Regions from separate parts of the Homo sapiens genome. Here region 2 is linked to region 1. The links are contacts of gene promoters, found by promoter capture Hi-C in human tissues and cell types (Jung and others, 2019). All regions are on one chromosome and are shown on one strand. Each heading gives the region's core, a stretch centred on a gene start or on the middle of the fragment in contact. The rest is flanking DNA. Distances are from core to core; before and after follow the strand shown. Region 1 holds the start of ARL16 (ARF like GTPase 16). Region 2 holds the start of NARF (nuclear prelamin A recognition factor).

The links. Contacts are between HindIII fragments. The study calls those that stand out against the background at their distance.
Region 2: a contact is called between the fragment with the promoter of NARF here and the fragment with the promoter of ARL16 in region 1, in 1 of the 25 tissues and cell types used here (dorsolateral prefrontal cortex).

What each region holds. Positions count from the first base shown.
Region 1 is chr17:81,682,547-81,685,453 of GRCh38, reverse strand. It overlaps ARL16 (ARF like GTPase 16), which reads left to right and starts at 1,657. Exons shown (of 5, transcript NM_001040025.3): 1 at 1,657-1,761; 2 at 1,860-1,918; 3 at 2,328-2,441. The coding sequence starts at 1,701. HGS (hepatocyte growth factor-regulated tyrosine kinase substrate) reads right to left here and starts at 1,443. Exons shown (of 22, transcript NM_004712.5): 1 at 1,351-1,443. The coding sequence starts at 1,387. RefSeq lists silencers at 1,213-1,312, 1,523-1,582, 1,793-1,872 and enhancers at 1,461-1,755, 1,973-2,192. The HindIII fragment of the contact is 7,981 bases long and covers 1-2,907 here.
Region 2 is chr17:82,457,429-82,460,393 of GRCh38, reverse strand. NARF (nuclear prelamin A recognition factor) reads right to left here and starts at 1,653. Exons shown (of 11, transcript NM_012336.4): 1 at 1,564-1,653; 2 at 322-402. The coding sequence starts at 1,590. NARF-AS2 (NARF antisense RNA 2) reads left to right here and starts at 1,875. Exons shown (of 3, transcript NR_184099.1): 1 at 1,875-2,721; 2 at 2,846-2,956. RefSeq lists enhancers at 899-1,731, 2,165-2,314 and a silencer at 1,315-2,134. The HindIII fragment of the contact is 15,922 bases long and covers 1-2,965 here.

The DNA.
Region 1 (2,907 bases), core at 408-2,907:
TGATGGGCAGGGAAGTGCCATCCTCCCCAGGGAAGCAGCAAACAGCGTAAGAGCACACCAGGTGCTGGTCCAAGCCCTCCCACAACCCGCGAGCGAGGTAAAGACACTCAGCAGAGAGGCGAGGGCACTGCCGTGAGTCACACAGCTCACCAGAGACAGAGGCTGATTCACTCTTAAACATCAGGCTCGGCTGCTTCTCAACAAAGAACCCTATCACCCGTCCCTTGGAGTCCCCGTTCGCCCAGATGCTCCCGGTTTCAATGGGACCTTAGCTTGGGCAAGGGCTAGAGAGGCCTGCAGTGTAGACTCCAGGCCCCTTGCTCCAAGCCAAGTGCTTTGGAAATAAGGGCAGAACGGGGCTCCAAGGAGGACTCGCCAGCATACCTGTCATCATACCACATCACTGCTGTCTCCAACAACTGGCCCCTCTGGGGGGGCAGCTCCAGCTCTGCCCACATCGCCTTTCCCGGATACAGAAACGATCTAACAAGCCAAGCCACGTCCACTTTCTATACTGATTCAGTAGTTAACCTCTGGATTCATCCCTGAAGCACTGAACTACCTGTGTGGCTGAGATACTCAGTCTGCTTGCTGGTTCCCTTGGCAAGGAAGGTGTCTCACTTGAAGTCTCCTTGAAAACCCTACTTGACAAAAAGGCAAGCTTGGGCAGCCCATTCGACCACCCAAGCTCCTACCCCCAAACATTAGACGCATTTTCCACGTGCTGCTGGGCACGTGCACATCAACATTCGTTTCCCTCCCAAAACGCGTCAATTCCAGGAGGCTCAGATAGGATCAGCTTTCACCTCCAAAAACGTGAGAAAACGCCTTCCTAAACCATTAGGCACTTCCCGAAGCCAGTGTGGGAACAAAAGGTGGGTCTGGGACCCGCAGCCCCCAAGAGAGCTCGAAGGTCCCAGAGAGAACACTGCCGGCTCCACCCTTCGAGGCCCAGTGTTTTGGGTCAGAAGCCCAAGTGCGAGCCTAACATCCGACTGAGTCACCCACTTTCATGACTCAGGCCTTGTGGCCCACTCGGCCGGGTGCTCGTCGGTCAAGAGGAAATCGGCCGAATGCCCGGGCCCGCGGAGGAGCGAGGTCGCCGAGCGCCCCTGGCGCCCTGCGCGGACCCTCGCAGAGCCCCATTTGCCAACGCCCGACGGACGCCGACCCCACGGCCGCGCCGAGGGTCCAGGATCGGCGGCTCCGAACCCGGGAGGACAGCGGGCCGGGGAGAGGCGGGCAGGGCGGCCGGTCCGCGCCCCTCGGGCCCTCGGGGCCGCGCTGACTCAGCGCCGGGCGGAGGCTGCGGGCTGACCAAGGCCGAGCCGTCGGGTGGGGACGCGTTACCTAGGAGACGCTCGAAGGTGCCGCTGCCTCGCCCCATGGCGACCTCCAGCCCAAACCCGACGCCGCGGGCGCTCCCCTGCTACGAGCTGGCGCGCCCCCCGACTTCCGCTTCCGCCTTTTCCCTCCAGTGCGCGCACGCGCACGTCACCGCGCCGGCCCTAGAGCCGCGAGGAGGCGGGGTCTTCCGCTCTCCCGCTAACGCTGCGCGCTAATTGGACGCGCCCTTGGAACAATGAGCCCTAAGAACCAATGAGAAGTCCGAAGGTGAGAACTATCCAATGAGAGTGGCCGGTGGGCGGGCCTTGAGCCGCGGCGCCGAGCTACGGGTGCCGGGTGGAGCGAAGCACGGAATGTGTCTCCTGCTGGGGGCCACGGGCGTCGGGAAGACGCTGCTGGTGAAACGGCTGCAGGATATCCTTCCGCGCGGGGACGGGACCGGGGCGCGGGGGGCACCCGGAGTGGGGCGGGGACTCACCCTTTAGCTGCTCGGGTCCTTGACCGCTTCGCACAGGTGAGCTCCCGGGATGGGAAAGGCGACCTGGGGGAGCCGCCCCCGACACGGCCCACGGTAGGTGTCCGCCCCCGCGGGTGGAGTTGCGGGGGGTCAGTTCTGCGCTTGGCGAAGAGCTCCGGGCTCCTCTAAGTGCACGCCGAGGCGCAGCGGGTCAGGTCGTGACTTAAGGCCAGCCTTCGGGAGCGGGGGACGGCCCGAGCTGAGGATAATTGGCGCGGGATGAGGGGGCCTGCCGCCCTCCACGGGCACTTCCTCTCCCCTCGCAACGGCTTCCTGTGGCTGGTCGCCCCCACAGCGAGTCCAGCTACTGATGGGCGTCGGTCCCTGCTCGCCGTTCCTGCGTTAGGGAGAATGGGTCTGCGGGGTTCAGGCCACCGTGTAAGGTGTGGGCACGGTGCTCTTCAGGAGTTCACAACGGGACAGCGGTTGTATTGTTCTTTTTGCATCGTGGTTTTTCCTATAGGTGGGCACCAATCTTACTGACATCGTGGCACAGAGAAAGATCACCATCCGGGAGCTTGGGGGGTGCATGGGCCCCATCTGGTCCAGTTACTATGGAAACTGCCGTTCTCTCCTGGTGGGTTGTAATCCTATATGGGCTTCCTTTAGGGAAGTGTGTCTACATTTCTGTGACGTCCAGTCCCCAACCTTGCTGTGTGTAGAAAGGGGTTTGGGTTATTTAGTGACTATACTACTCATGGAAATAGGTCTTAGCTAGTGTTGCTTCCTGCTGGGCACCCTGTCTGGTTTCTGGTGCTTGCGCTCCCAGGCCCCCGGTAGGAGCTCACAGAGGGCTTGCTGAGGGCAGGGCTGCTGCTCCGCAGAGAACAGACTTGGCCCTCTGTGTCACTCCCCGGTACGTCTGTGTTTATGTTGGACTTATACGTACCTCTGGTTGGTCTCATCTTGATAAGGCCTGTGCCGCGGATACCAGTATGGAGAACTGATGGCCACATGAGGACAGAGACGAGTGACACCAGGTCGTCTTCATAAAACTCGATTCCCTCTGCTTCTGCTTGTTCCCAAAGCTTTGTTTAAAGCTA
Region 2 (2,965 bases), core at 404-2,903, 770 kb before region 1:
TTCCAGGGTCAAGCAATTCTCCTGCCTCAGCCTCCTGAGTAGCTGGGATTACAGGCGTACACCACCATACCTGGATAATTTTTGTATTTTTAGCAGAGATAAGGTTTCACCATGTTGGCCAGGCTGGTCTCAAACTCCTGACCTCAAGTGATCCGTCCACCTCGGCCTCCCAAAGTGCTGGGATTCCAGGCGTGAGCCACCATGCCCGCGTACTTCAGTCTTCTTTAAAGCAGTGATGTGCACGGTGCTGTGAGCCCCCAAAGAGAAAAACAGCAGCAGTAGTTTACTCTGGGCTGATACAAAACTGAAAAATCTACTTGCCTCTCCATTTTCCTGGGCTGGACTCGGTGCATCGGCTGACACATTCTCTTGGTCATCAGTTTTTGTTTTCTTACTACATTCCTTAAAAAAGCAAAGGAACATTATCAATGAACTTTTACTTCGTCTCCCTTAAGAAAATGTGCACATTCTGACCAATGAAGCTCATGTATTTCTATCCTTTCTTTTAGTTTATTTATTTATTTTTTTAGACGGAGTCTCGCTCTCACCCAGGCTGGAGTGCAGGGGCGCAATCTCGGCTCACTGCAGCCTCCACCTCCCGGGTTCAAGCGATTCTCCTGCCTCGGCCTTCTGAGTAGCTGGGATTACAGGTGTGCGCCACCACACCCAGCTAATTTTATATTTTTAGTAGAGACTGGGTTTCGCCATGTTGGCCACGATGGTCTTGAACTGCTGACCTCAGGTGATCCACCCGCCTCGGCCTCCCCTCCCAAGGTGCTGGGATAACAGGCTTGAGCCACCGTGCCTGGCCTTCTATCCTTCTAACCCTTCTAGTGAAACAGGTACTGAAGGACACACACACATCTCTATTGTTTACAATAATAAAAAAGCAGAAGCAACTGTAGCCTTCACCCCACAGGCGAATTCCCCTGGACACAGGTGTACTTAGAATAGGACGCAGCCACCACCGGGGATGAACGACCCATGGAATGTTAGGAAGCCTCCTGCCACGGCGTCACGCGCAGAAGTGCCAGCCACAGAGCAGCATCCACAGGAGCCCATTCCGGCAATAACAGCTACAAAACCCCCCTGCGTGCGCTGCGCGGTTGTTGCCATGGCCTGGAGACAACCGCGGAAGGCGCCGGTCAGCAGCCGTCACCCGCTTCCGCCCCTGCACCGGCTGCTCGGTGACCCTCAGAGGGGCAGGTTCGAAAACGCCTAAAACCCTCTCGAAACGCTTCTGATCATTCCCGCCACGACCGCTGTTTACTCGGACTGTGGTGCGCGGCACGAGAGGCTCGGTCTCCGTGCGTTTCCGCGCTTCGCGGGCGTGGGAAAGATGGACAAGTTCAGGGAGAACCGCGAAGACCGAACCCGCCCTGCAGAGCGCAGCGGACCCCGCGCCGGCCGCCTCCACGCCGAGCGGGCCCAGGGTGCCGAGGCCGGGGGCGCCTTGAAGAGCCCTGAAGCGAGCGAGCGGCGGGCCCGGACCGCCAACCTCGGCCGCCCAGAGCCCCACAGGACAAGCACCAGGCGCGCGCCTCCCCGGCCCGCGGCGCTCACCTTGCGCGTGCAGTGCTCACACTTCATCTGGAGCGCGGCGGGCGGGAGGCCGGGCGCCTCAGCCTCAGGGAAGCACCGGGAGACTGGGACACCACTGCCCGCCGCCCGCGGCCCTTTGTTGTCCTCCCCCGACGCGGCCTCACCCCCAACGGCCGCGCTCGGCCAATGAGAGCACCGGGAGAGGACAAGCCGCACCCCTGGGCCAATAGGATTCCCCACCCTTACGGCTTTGCCTAGGCCAATGACAGTGTCGGGAAGGGGCGGGCCAGGCCCCAGAGCCAATCGGAGCGCGCGGGGCGGACCGCAGGCTCACTCCACGTACGGCGCCGGGGGGACCGGGTCCTTGCGCCGGTTTCCGCTTCTCGTGGGTCCTGCGGCGGCGGCGGCGGCCAAGCGGCGTTCACCAGGGAGTCGGTGAGCGCGCGGACTGTCCCGAGGCCAAGCTGGGGCCGTTCCAGGGTGCTCGGTCCGGTGGTCACGGGGCCTGGAGGCCCCTGGGCCCGCGGAGGCCGCGGCCGGGCTCTGTCAGCCAGCTCGGCGTTGGACACTCGCCTTACTCGCGGCTCCTAACGGGGCGGGCCGGGGGCACAGCCCTCGTCCGCCGCCATTGCCACTTGACGTCGTGTCACGTAGGCTCGGCGGAGTAGCAGCGCGCATGCGCGGCCTGCCTGTCAGTAACCACGTGATGGACCCGGAAGCCCGAGGGCAGATGCTAAATGATGGCCATTTGACATTTGCGTGTGTTCACTATGGATAGTTTTACCAAGTACATTGATTTGGGCCCTTACAGCTTACAAAGTAAAGATAACACTTACTCCTCCAAGAAATTGATTTCAGCTAAGCAAAACATTGATACAGGGCTATAATGGAAGTGTTGGACTCATAAACGTTTTATGAAATCAGTGTGTGTGTATTACAGAAATCAGAAATGAGAAGTAAGAACATGTCTGGGAGAGTGTGACATAAGAAAAATAACTTGTAGGCGTATTTAACAGACAGCAGCAGTTCTCAGGATTCCCCATGTTAGAGCCTTCCTTCCTGTCCTCTGAGAAATGAAAATGAAATCCAAAGACCCCCAACTGACTACACGAACCCCCTACTGGCTAAGGAGATCCCAGGGTTGCCTTGAAGGCAGTTCTCAGCCATGACAGATGGGAGGTGAGACACCTGTTATTAAGGCCAACCCTTGGCTAACTACCATTAGGTTTTCTTGGCTAAGAGCTTAACGGAAACCAGCGCTTTCGAAAGACTCCACCGCTGATAACAACTCTCTCATTTGCAGTTTCGGCCCAATTGACCAGTATTCCTTACTGATAAGAGACACTGACCATGGAGTGGTTCTGGTGAGATGACATGACCCTCGTGAAGGGGCCTGAAGCTTCATTGTGTTTGTGTATGTTTC